Linked DNA regions of Homo sapiens: region 1 is linked to region 2. The links are contacts of gene promoters, found by promoter capture Hi-C in human tissues and cell types (Jung and others, 2019). All regions are on one chromosome and are shown on one strand. The core of a region is centred on a gene start or on the middle of the fragment in contact, and the rest is flanking DNA. Distances in the headings are between cores, read along the strand shown. Region 1 has its middle 5.5 kb from the start of GTPBP8. Region 2 holds the start of SIDT1 (SID1 transmembrane family member 1).

The links. The method cuts DNA at HindIII sites, captures the fragments that hold promoters and counts their contacts. A contact is called where the count stands out against the background at its distance.
Region 1: a contact is called between a fragment that was not itself captured here and the fragment with the promoter of SIDT1 in region 2, in 1 of the 25 tissues and cell types used here (mesenchymal stem cells).

What each region holds. Positions count from the first base shown.
Region 1 is chr3:112,982,240-112,988,693 of GRCh38, reverse strand. No RefSeq gene overlaps it. Among named protein-coding and RNA genes, the nearest start is that of GTPBP8, 5.5 kb to the left of the region's middle. The HindIII fragment of the contact is 5,746 bases long and covers 647-6,392 here.
Region 2 is chr3:113,530,827-113,537,086 of GRCh38, reverse strand. SIDT1 (SID1 transmembrane family member 1) reads right to left here and starts at 4,532. Exons shown (of 25, transcript NM_017699.3): 1 at 3,844-4,532. The coding sequence starts at 4,065. RefSeq lists enhancers at 3,641-3,770, 4,241-4,570, 4,711-4,900, 4,921-5,140 and a silencer at 3,921-3,970. The HindIII fragment of the contact is 8,425 bases long and covers 597-6,260 here.

The sequences.
Region 1 (6,454 bases), core at 2,270-4,769, 550 kb after region 2:
AGTGTAGATTGGGAGTCAGGATCTAGCCTGCTAGATCAGGACTAGGTCAGGGCTAAGATTCAGAATAGGGTTTTAGTCCAAGTAGGGAAAAGAAGGACTGTAGATTAGAAAATCTTGCTGTCTAATATGCGCCTCCCATTTCCTAGGTCCAAAACAGAATTTCTAATATCCTTTAATTGTCTCCTAATCTGTAAGAGACAATGGCACCTCCATTCCTCCAATTGACTTAGCTGAAAATCTTGGGAGAAAATTCTGGACTCCTTTTTCTGTTACCCCAAGTCCAAGTTGTTAGCAATCCCCTTGGCTTTACCTTGAAAACATATCCTGAATTGGATACTTTTTAGCACATCCACTGCCACCACCCTGATACAAGCCACCATTATCTCCCACCTAGATTATTGCAGTAGCTTTCAAATTGATCACCCACCTTTGCCCTTTGCCCCCTTCAGTATATTTGCAACATGGTGATAGGGAAGTGGGGCAGGGAAGTGGGGCAGGGAATTGTGAGGAGAAGGGCAGGTCCCTGGCTAGAGCTCCACCCCCGGCCTGTGCCCACGGACCTAGGTGAGGACAGGCACTTCTGGCTTTGTGCCCAAATGTTGCATTTCCCAAAGCCACCCAGGTCTGCCACACCCCCATCCTGTGCCTATAAAAACCCCGACACCTAGCAGGCAGACACACAAGTGGTTGGACCTTGAGAGGAACACCTTGGTGGAAGAAGACACGAGCTGCTGGATGTCAAGAGGACGTCGAGGGGAGCAAGCTGCCCACCAGCAGGCCATTGACCAGTAGAATGATGCAGAGTTTGGCCGGGGCGGTTGGAGGGCTGCTGAGTGGCTGAACTCCTGGGGAAAACCATCTCCCTTCTGGCTCCCCTATCTGCTGTGAGCTACTTCCAGTCAAAACCATGCACTCATTCTCCAAGCCCATGTGTGATCCGATTCTTCCAGTACACCAAGGCAAGAACCCAGGATATAGAAAACTCTTTGTCCTTGTGACAAGGTAGACGGTCTAATTAGCTGGTTAACACAAGCTGCCTATAGATGACAAAACTAAAAGCGCACACGGTAGCAGATGCCCACTGAGGCTTCAGGAGCTGTAAACATCCACCCCTAGATGCTGCCGTGGGGTCGGAGCCCCACAACCTGCCTGTCTGTATGCTCCCCTAGAGGTTTGAGCAGTGGGGCCCTGAAGAAGCGAGCCATTCCTTGTCACATGCCCTTCGAGCGGGACAAGAGTACTTTTCCCATTTCAGTGGCAGCAACCATGATCCTGTTAAAACATAAGCTAAACCTCCAAGAGCTTCCTGTCTCACTCATAGAAAAAGTTCTTGCACTAACCTAAAAAGCCCTACATGAACTTTCATTTTCTTCTTCCACTCTTGTCTGACTTCATCTATTGTTATTTTTCCCCTTTTCTACTCCATTCCAGCCACACTGGCTTCCTTGCTGTTTTTCAAGCAAGCCATATACACACACCTGCCTCTGTGTCCTTGTACTTCTCCCTGGAATGCTTACCCCAGATAATCACATGGCTTATTCCCAGTTTGACTTAGGATGTATTTATGGCCAACCTTCTGAGAAAAAGTGCCTTCTGTTTTGATAACGAGGAGGTAGTTTACCACAAAGTTAACAAGGTTTTAAAAATTTAATATGACTTTGACAGGCGTTACTTTATACATCATCCCCAGAATCAGCTTTTATTGCTAAAATTCATCTGCCCTAAATGTCATAGTTATACTCTGTCATGCTCAGCTAAGAATAGAAGGAAGATAGGTAGGACAGGATCCTCTCAATTGTTCTTACTGCGATGTCTGCCTCTATAGTGAATGGCCATTAGGTCCAGAGTGATCCCAATTTATGTCCAGGTCCTATAGGTTTCAAGCTTATGGAATCCATCTAAGACATGAAGAAGGTAAACTTTGTAGGCCTAGATAGGTAGGGGCACTGGGAACATCAGATAACTCCCATCCTAAGTTAAACATGGTTTGAATGTCCTGACAGAAGCAAGAGCAGGGACTCTAGCAAAACTTACTTCTAGAAATAGAGAGAGGGAATGGATTAGGTCTCAGTGTCTGATTTCCACTAGACCTTTCTTACCCTGACTTTTCTGCTTGTCTTAACAACAATAATGAACATTTATTGGGTGTCTGCTATGCCAGGAATTTATCTGAGTACTGATAAACTATGAGAAAGACCTGGTTACATTCCAATTAGGATATCAAACTCTTGTATTAGGAAGAAAATATTGGGAGAAAGGAAGATGAAAGAGGCTTTATATGAAGGAGCATGATATGGGAGAAACTTCCACATAAATTACTTAAATTGTGATGACTACTATCTGAATGAATGATTTAAATTTAAAATACAATTAATTATATTTTTCTTGAGTTTTCTGTGCAACATTCATTTTAAAATTTTACTTTAGATATTACCTGACACATTGACACAAATTTGTGGCACAACAAGTTTGATTTGTTCACCTAATTTCTTTCTTTTTTTTTTTAGAGACAAGGTCTCGCTCTGTTGCCCAGGCTGGAATGGGCACAATCATGGCTCACTGTAGTCTCAACCTCCTGGGCTCAAGTGATCTTCCTGCCTCAGCCTCCTAAGTAGCTGAGACGACAGGCACTCAACCACCCTTGGCTAATTTTACAAAGTTTTTTTGTGTGTGTGTGCTTTTTTTTTTTGGAGAGACAGAGTCTCACTATGTTGCTGAGGTCAGTTTTGAACTCCTAGCCTCAAGAAATCATCCTGCCTTAGCCTCCCAAAATGTTGGGATTACAGGCATGAGCCACCACGCCCAGGCTTAATTTCTTAATTAGGGCATAAATTATTATTCTTGAGATTTATTATTTTACTATAATTCAAGAACCAATAGAGACCTATTTTCCATGATTTTAGTCTTTGGAGCTCATGAAAGCATTGAGCTTTTTAAATATCTGATTAATGTGTCTTTAGAGAATATATCTAAATTTAGAGAAGTTGTTTCTTTTTCAGAGAAGTTGTTTGAGCTTTCTTTTAAGGTTGTGCCTACTGCACTGACAGATTTCTCTAAAGAGATCTGGAGATTAACCATCAGACAGTAATCATAGGTAGGAGGTGAGTTTGTAGAGTGATTTGGATTCTGGAGGAGGAGTAAAGGTTCACTTCTTTCAAGGTTGTTTTTATCAATAGAGGGAGAAATGATTGCTTTAAGTGGTCTTAATTTTTTTCATTCGTAATTTTGCATTTGGCTCTGTGTCATACAAGTGCTATTAAAATAATTTGGAACACTATTTACCATATTCAGGTTGTGTTTTTATATCAGTAACAAGCTCAGAGGGTTTTTTTAAAATTGTTTTTGGAAAATAGTATGGATTTTGCTGTTCTGACTGATTAATTCGTTAACATTTTAATTCTTGTTGTGTGTTAAGCAAGGTTATTTTAGTGGGCAAGTTTACTTTGTAGTACACATCTAGTTTATATCTTGTTGCCTTGTTGGAAGTGAATGGAATGTTCTCTAACACCCTGAGGAGATGAGGCAACATTCACAGGCAGATATATTGATGTATATTCAAATTTTTAACTTATTCATAGGTAGAGTGTGTCAGGTGTTCCCAAGACTAGCTCCCAAATGAGGCGAGCAAGGATGCACAGAACTCAGCATATAGTTGTACTTATGCCTATAATTTACAACAACAAAAGAATACAAAGCAAGCCTGGCAAGGGGAAAAGGCACTCAAAGTGAAGTTTGGAGGAAGCCAGGCACAAGCTTCTAATTGTCCCCTAAGTTGCACAGGATGCAATTAATTCTGCCAGCAATGAGTTTTAACAACATGTGTGAAATGTTGTCTACTAGCAAAGCTCACCTGAGTCTAGGAGTCCAGGGTTTTTACCGAGCGCTGTTCATATAGGCATCTAGTGCCTGTGTGACTGACTATAGTCACTGAAAGTTCAGATTTGCAGAAGGAAAGCAGCATCAGTATGTACCACTTGTTTGTTCAAATAGTTTAGATACAGTGAGCCACTCATGAATGGAAAGTTGGCTCTGTGCCATGCAAGGAAACTGTTTACCAGTCAAGTTCTCAAATGTCAGCCCAGTGCCAATCTTGTAAACAAATCTTTCTAAGGGTAGCAGCCACAGGCCTGCTATATGAACTGTTTTCTGCACATAGATTAAAAGATAAAAACATTTAAAAATGAGAAGTTTCTCACCTGCACTTATTGTGAGATTGTATACTTGTAGGAAAGATGTATTCCAGGTTCTGCTCTAAATACAAGTGATTTCTCTGGAGATTTTTGAGAAAAGTGGGACAGACTTTCTCTAGTCATTTTAATAGGACATGGCAAAACTAGAATTCTTCCTGTGGAAGGAGGTTATAATCAAAGCTGCTGTCTCAGCCACCTGTAATAAAGTATGGGGCCTCTGGAGAGGAGTGCAATGAATTGGTGATTCAACTGGTATGAACATCAGGTTTAGCTGGAGTTGAGTGCAGCAATGTCCTTGAACATTCCCTCCAACCTCCTTACCCATCCTCCTCTAGGGGCTGGACAATCAGATTCAAACAATGTTTTGTGATTACTCTCTAGAAAGGAATAATGCCTGGTGTAGTGGTACTAGGTGGTTACCTAATAGGCAGGATCTCATGGGTGGCAGGCGCACGAGTGGTTGAGCCCAGAATGCTGTGATATATCTCTCTTCTGCCTAGACTAGTGCAAGTCAGAACCTAGCCTTTCACTCCTCTCTCTAGGTATCTGTTATTTACCAAGATAGCTGATTTTTTTTAAAAGATAGCTGATTTTACCATAATAGTATAATCTCACGAACTCACATTATGAACCCACAAGCAATAGAAGAAAAAGTAAGAAAAAGATAATTCATTCTAGAAGTAATCAGAATGAATGGACTTGGTGGGCAAAGAATTTAAATAAAAACAGAAAATATCCTCAGAGATAAGGGAATATATGGCAAACATGAAACAGGAAGCTTCTAAGAAGTACCAGTTGAACATATTAGATATGAATTATATTATTGTGAAGTAAATTTCTCAATGGATGTGTTTAATAGTTGAATAATATTATCAACTCAAAGAACAAAATAGCAGGATAATTAGATTGGAGAATATTTCAATAAATATTAGGAAGGGATAAAAAATATAAAGAATTTAAAAGTTAAGAGCTGCGAAGGTGAAAAGAAGAAATTTAAATAACAGTATTGTAAGAGTTGGGCATGGTGGCTTGGTCCTGTAATCCCAGCACTTTGGGAGGCCGAGGTGGGCAGATCGATTTGAGGCCAGGAGTAGGAGACCAGCCTGGCTAACATGATGAAACCCCTTTCTCTACTGTAAATGCAAAAAATTAGCCAGGTATGGTGGTGCACGCCCACAATCCCAACTACTTGGGAGGCTGAGGCATGAGAATTTCTTGAGCCTGAGTGGCAGAGATTGCAGTGAGCTGAGATTACACCACTGCACTCCAGCCTGGGTGAGAGAGCAAAACTCTGTCTCAAAAAACAAAACAACACAAAACAAAAGCAAACCAAACAATATTATAGGAGTACTTGAAAAAAATGAAGTAAAAGGAGGAAATTTGCTGAAAATTTCCAGAATTAAAGATACTTTGACTAGGAAGCAGAGCACTACTTCTTACAGGTTTCATTGCTTTATCATATTTAGCCAAGTAAAAGATAGAAATATTAAATCAAAAAAGATCTTATCTACTTCCTTTTCTCAATACAGAACATTCAACATTCAAACGTTTTCAGCAGTTTCATATTTCCTACTTCTTCTTTTCCCAAGGTGAGATAATCATAACAGTATTCTTTAGAAAATTCCCCTACACACATTTTGAAATCACATTAAATCACTCCAAGTTATTGGTAGTATATTAGTAAGTAAAAAGAAAGCATATAAGAAAGAAAGATCACTAGTAGGAAAATAGTCATAAAAGCATAACTTAGTTGTCAATGGAGCATAAATGATTTTAAGAAAAAAGTCTTAATATAGGCCTTCAGACTTTTAAAATTCTTAAATTTCCTGTATGGAATATCTGAGCTTTTATGTTTCAACAACATAATCAATGCTACAAGTGACCAAAATAAAAACGACTTTAATAAAATGCATTTCAGAAAGTTGTGGTAAAATGGAAGCAGTCACGAAACACAAGTGTTCTGTGGCTTCTGGTATCTGTTTACCTTTTTGCTGCTGCCCGCAAGTTAAATGATACAGTATTTTAGTTTTAAAAACCATGCTTTTGAAGCTGTAACTGCATCCTTCTTTTTCTAATCCAGTAGAGTGGAGATGATGTGAAATGGTCAAATTCAGGAAACATTTTAAAGTAGAGACCAAAAAGACTTGCTGATAGATGAGGAAAAGCAAAGAATCAAGGAATTGGACTTTTACATCAGGTGATACAGACTAAGAAATTTAGATCAATCTTCCCTCTCAAGCCAACTAGAAAATCTAGACATAATC
Region 2 (6,260 bases), core at 3,283-5,782:
CACCATCTAGCTCAAATAGAAACATCTGATTGTTGCTGCCAACTGTCTCTACAAGAGTATTCTCATTTCCCAGTAAACCTGCATTTGTGCCTTCTGTCCCAGTCAAACATATCCCTGGCAACTTTCCCAACAAGTTAGTTTCCTTCTAGCCTGGCTGAGCCCTGTGGTTATAGAACACCCTGTTTGCACAGTATAGCCCTCCTCCTCTTAAAGAGAGTCTCCAGACACTTCCTTCCAGAGAAATGAAATGAATCATGATCTTGCCTAACTTGCACCTCCAATTATTATTTTCATCATTCTTATTTGAAGCAGTCATTCCATTCTCTCAGTGATTTTTTTGAAGGCAACTTCATATTTACATTACCCTATGCCTGGAAGGCATATGAGACTTTTCCTGGTGCTGAGTGCAGCTAACTAGTATGACACAAGCTTGGCAAAATAGTTCTCTGGGACAGTTTGGTATGGGAGATGCAGTGGCTGACAGGAAAGATTAGGAGCAATGGCTCCCACAACAGCTTCCTGTCTTTAAGCCTAAACTTAGAATAGACTTTCTCCTCCAAGGCACAGGAAAAATAATGTCAAGCAACAATGGCTTGAAGAAAGAGGAAAACAAAGATTAAAGCTCAAAAACTAGCCATTTTTTTCCCTAAACCAAATTCTTTGTTGCACTGAAGAGGGGAGGTGGGCAATGACCCTGCAGGCTAGAAAGACTTACCTTATCAAGACTTTGTTCAGGTTAAAGGGAAACCAGTCATGTCCAAGCTTCTGCTCTAAAGATCGTAGGTCTGGGGTCATACATCTCTATTTAACAGAGCCTCTTAGTGAGTGTAGGATAAGCAATGATGGCAAAAATTGCACAACATGGGAGAGTAACAAAAATTTAGTGGGTGGGGGTCAGCATTTGAGGAGGTATGAGGGGATGGCCAAGAAGATAGTGACAAACCAGCGCCTGAAAGAGAGCGTCGCTATCTTGAAATCCCCCTGGTGGTAAATTGTCGGAACAGTATGGCCTAGGTTTCTGATTTAATCTATCACCTATCTTGTGCTGTGATGTCATTCCTCTATGTTATTCCAAACCTTCAGTAAAATTCTGCTACATCCAACAGCCTTGTGTACCTGCAAGAAGGGGCTGCTGATATCTTATGCAGGATAAGAAGAACTAAGAAGAGAGTAGGAACCGAAGGTAATGGTTTGGACAGACAGATCAAGAAAATGTCTTCTCTGGAGAAAGCAACAGGAATACTGGCTGGTAGGACAGGAGGTTAATTTCCCACAATAAGTGGCTTTTGAGGGCTCCACTACAGCATTTGCATATTAAAGATTGGTCCCAGAAGGCTGTAAGATTTGAGGACATTTGGCTTATATTGAGAATACTGGCACTAAAATAATTGAAATTCTTGTTATCTCCTGTTCCCATGGTTCCCAACTTTGTATTTCTCAGACTAGTAATATTTTAACAAAAATTCTAGGGACTGCTTGGGTCATCAACCTTTTACTGTGTCATTCAAAAATATTTTCAAAACTGTTTCATAAAATAAAGGACATGTTAACACACACAGACAAAATAGGGCATAATAGAACAATTTTTAAAATGTGTTTTTATAAAAACCAAATTTGTTTTATGAAAGAAATTTGTTTTTATGTTTTTATCTGAAATGATCTCACATTTTCCAAACTATTGAATTGAAAACAGTATACATTTCATTTTATTTAGCCTTAGCTAATAACCCTTTATTCACTTATTTGTTCATTTTTGGAAAACACTAAATGTTTTTTATAAGCCTCTCTTTTCTTTAAAAAAAAAAACATTTTGAAAAAACAGGGTATCACTCTGTCCCCAGTGGGAGTACAGTGGCAAGAGCTCAGCTCACTGCAGCCTCAAATTCCTGGGCTCAAGTGATCCTCCTGCCTCCGCCTCCTAAGTAGCTGGGACTACAGGCGCATGTGCCATCACACCCAGCTAATTTTTTAATTTTTTGTAGAGAGAGGGTCTCATTATGTTTTCCAGGCTGGTCTTGAACTCCTGGTCTCAAGCAATCCTCCCACTTTGTCCTCCAGAGTGCTGGGATTACAGGTGTGAGCCATCATGCCTGGCTTATAAACCTCTTATGTGCCATTCACTGTGCTAGGTACTGGAGGGCAGAGATGAACATGACTTTGCCCCTGCCCTCAATATCTCAAGGTTTACTAGGGAAGTCAACCAGGTGATCTCAAGTGCAAAACTCACACAGTACAAGGGGAAAATGTAAAGGCAACAATTCATAAGTAGATGCTCTATCTCTATGCAGAACTGCAAGAAATACCAAAGCCTGATGTCAGGATTTACTTAGCACATGTAATTTGAGTTTTCTTACCAATGATTTAGGGGGAAGCTGAGACTTACTCCAGAGATCATGGAGTTTTCAGACTTTTTTCTGCTCCCAGCCAATCACAGGACTAGGAACACACCTCACGTGCAACATGTCAACCAGTCGATGAGTTCTCCCACGCTAGATAGAAAGAGGCTGGGTATATGGCGTTTGGGAAACAAAAACTGCAGCCTCTCCCTTGTCTACCATGAAATGGCTCTGCATACAGCCACTCTGCTCACTACAGAACATATAACCTGAAGGTTACTGGAGGACAGAGCAGGGTGAGGGCTGTGCTGCCATGGTAACAGTGCCATAGGATTTGGTGCCACACTGGAGATGGGGCACTCAGGGCACTTTCTGGCTACACACAGCTGGAAGATGTCTAGGAGCAGTGTTAGGCACATTGGTCCCCCCTGCTCAATACAAACCACCCTCACTTTGGGAAGTGATGAGGTTTTCTAGTTCCGATCTGGAGTGAGAATCAGACGGAGGCATATCATGGTATCCCAATCATCTAGTTCTGGAATTTCCCTAGAGGGTAGGGGATGCTGGTATAGTAAGGGATACATAAACACATTTATATGGGAAGAAGATCCAGAGGTTGGTACACTGGGGAGTCTCTGTCTCTGTCTCTGTCTCTCTTTCTCTCTTTCTCTCTCTGTCTCCCTCTCTCTCCCCGCCCAGTGCTCCAGAGGTACCACACTAGAGGAAAGAAATGAACTATATGCATCTTCTTACGTTATATAATCGGAGTATATATGTCAAAGGGATAGTCACTGGAACATTTTTCCCTCCTTATCTTCCCTCAACTTTTGTCAAAAATAGGTCTAGAACTTTCACACAATTATCCATCCTTATTTAAAATCAAAACCTGGATTGATCAGCTGATGGCTGCAGTTCTCACGTCTTTGCCCAGGTCTTCTGGCGTCTCTGAAGCACAACGTGTGACAATGGCACAAAAACGCAGGAAGTGACTGTTGAATGCACAGAGGTTCTGCAGCTTCCGTCCATTTTCACACAATTTCCATTTTAGATTCTGAGCAGTTCTCCCTCCCCATGCGCTATGAAATAGAAGGGTCTGGCTGAATCAGCCACTTGAAATTAGGTTTCTTCCCTGCAGGGGATTAGGAACCGAGGTGCGGTTCTTCTTCGCACTCCACACCACACCCCGCAACCCTAGAAATCAGGACTTTCCTGGAGAAAGACCCAGCAGGGACCCAGGACCCGCAGACGGTGCGGGGAACTGGTGCCTCTGCAAAGCCCAGCAATGCCCTTGACCAGGCCAGGAGAGGCGCGAGGCGAAGCAGAGTTGTCCCCGAGGCGTGTTGAGGCAGCTAGGGCAGGGCAGCGATTGCTTCGGAGGAGAAAGGGAAAGAAAGTCCCCTGGTCCCCGAAGTCTCCCAAGGTCAATTCCCAGGGGACTCCAAAGCAGCGACGGGGCTCTGAGATCTGGCAAGTTCTAGGAGTCGAGCGAGGGGAGCGAGTGTCTTACCTGGTCGGGCTGGCTGGTGTAGTTGAAAGAGTAGATGTTCTCGGTGCTGAGGTTCACCACCCCGCTGTAGACATGATCGAAATCGGCGCCCCTGGCAGCGTCGAAGGGGTCGCGGCGCGGTGCCGGGGGCTGCCTGGGGGATTTCGCCGGGTGCCCGGGCGACGCCGCCAGCAGGAGCCAGGGCAGCGCGCAGAGCAGCGCGAGCCGCAGGCAGCCGCGCATGGTGGGCACCGCGCCCGGGCTCGAAAGCGGAGCCACCCTGGGGAGGGGGCGAGCGCAGAGAGGGTCCTTCCAAAGCCCGGTGCAGGGCCAGGCGTCCGCTTCAGAGCCGAGCGGGTGATGCCTGGCGAACCCAGCCGGCCAGGGCTGGCAGCGTGCTGACGAAGGGCCGATCAAATACTGATGCTGCCGCCTGGGGTCTCCACTGGAGGTCACGGGTGGAGAGTAGGGCGGACTGGAGAAGTGGAGATGTGGGGCTGCTGATTTTCCTCCGGCTTCTAAGTCCCCCGTTTCTCATCGCCGAGAATCCCCCCACTTACCCAGCCAGAATTTAGACCGATCTCTTCTCCCTCAACCTCAATAACAGCAATAATAAAAAGGCATTGGAGTCATTAAAAAGAAATACCCGCTAGTCTCGAAAAGTCAACCTGACGCCACATCGAGGAGGAAATTCGGTCTGTTTCAAATACGTGTGCACCCTGGCTGCAGGAGAAGAAATAGAAAGCAAAAGAGCCCGTCCCCCAAGAGGGTGCGCGAGTTCGCTTTCCCAGGCTGCTACCTGCAGAGAACTCTTGCCTGTCTGAACGATAATTACTCTCTATTCTCCCCTCTCTAATAGAACCTCTCCTCAGACACCTGTTTTATTTCTTTATTACCTCCTACTCTCCATGGAGAGTCTCACGTCATCACGTTCTCTCCCTCACCATATGTGTATGTATGTAAATATGTACAGTTAAAAAAAAAAAGATATGGTAAAGAGAACAATTTCCAGCACTGCCTGAAGTCTGGTCCCGGAAGTTGTCAAAAAACGACTCAGACTAACTAGATTTATGCAGAAGGCATTTCTTTCCACCCCAGCCTCTTACCTACTTTACCATTGCAATGACTTCTTCCAGATTCTGAGAGAAACCCCAGGATTGTTTTTTTAAAGGCAGAAACCACAGCCTATCGTAAAAAGGAAATACTTTTCTGATAAAAATTAGGGGATTAGATTTAAAGAGTTAAAGAGGCAGGTAAGGAGCAGGGTGAGAATGGGGCCATCAGAAGACCTTGCAGAACATTGAACAATCACAATTTACGTGTGGAAGAGAACTCACTGTTTTATTTCAGCTTCATTACTGTATACTATAAAAGAATGTAATTGTGTTCAACCTGAAGGACCATTTAAAAAGAAGTCATTAAGAAGGAAAAGATCTTTTTCAAAAATTTAAGATTACAGATTAAAATCCTAGTCCTTGCCATCTTTAAAGAGATAGATTTGTTTTTGTTTTTACCTTGTCTAATTCCTTTAATTTCTTAAAACATCAAGAATGAATGCAATACATTTGTTGTAAAGTTTTCTGTGAAATCAGAAAACAATGCTGATGGAAGATTAAGTTAGTAGACTCCTTATTAGGACAATTTTCAGTTTTAAAGTTTTGAATGTTCTTGGCCAGGTGCAGTGGCTCATGCCTGTAATCCCAGCACTTTGGGAGGCTGAAGTGGGAGGTGGGCTAGCTTGAGGCCATGTGTTCATGACAAGTCTGGGCAACATGATGAAACCCCATCTCTACAAAAAATACAAAAATAGCTGGGCGTGGTGGTGCATGCCTGTCGTCCTAGCTACTTGGGAGTTGAGTTGGGAGGACTGCTTGAGTCCGGGAGGTCGAGGCTGCAATGAGCCGTGAACACCCCACTGCACCCCAGCTTGGATGACAGAGCAGGACCCTATCTCAAAAGGAAGAAAGGAAGGAAGGAAGAAGGAAGGAAGAAAGGAAGGAAGGAAGGAAGGAAGGAAAGAAAGAAATTTCTTGAAAATATATGGGTATATGGGCAAAAATACTAATTCAAAGGAGAGTCTGGGGGTAAAACTTCAAATAGAACTCACTGTTTTTGAGGAGCATAACGAAATAATTTCATCCAGAATTTGAATGACTTTAAACTGTTGTATTCAAAATATCTGTGCCTCTTTTCAAAGTTCAACAACATTTCATAAACTTGAAATCTACGAAGGTCCTGGAGGTTAGCTGGTGTGACCAGTTAAAGGAGTCTCTAGGATTATGGAGTTCTATTATGGCGTTCTTTTTAAACACTATAAGAGATGAGGAACTGGTTCTTTCACAAGTCAACACCTTCTTTTGGGGGCAAGTGTCTCATTATTAGAAAGACATTTCATATTCTTAGTTGAAATCTGCCTGTCTTCTACTCACTTGTACTAG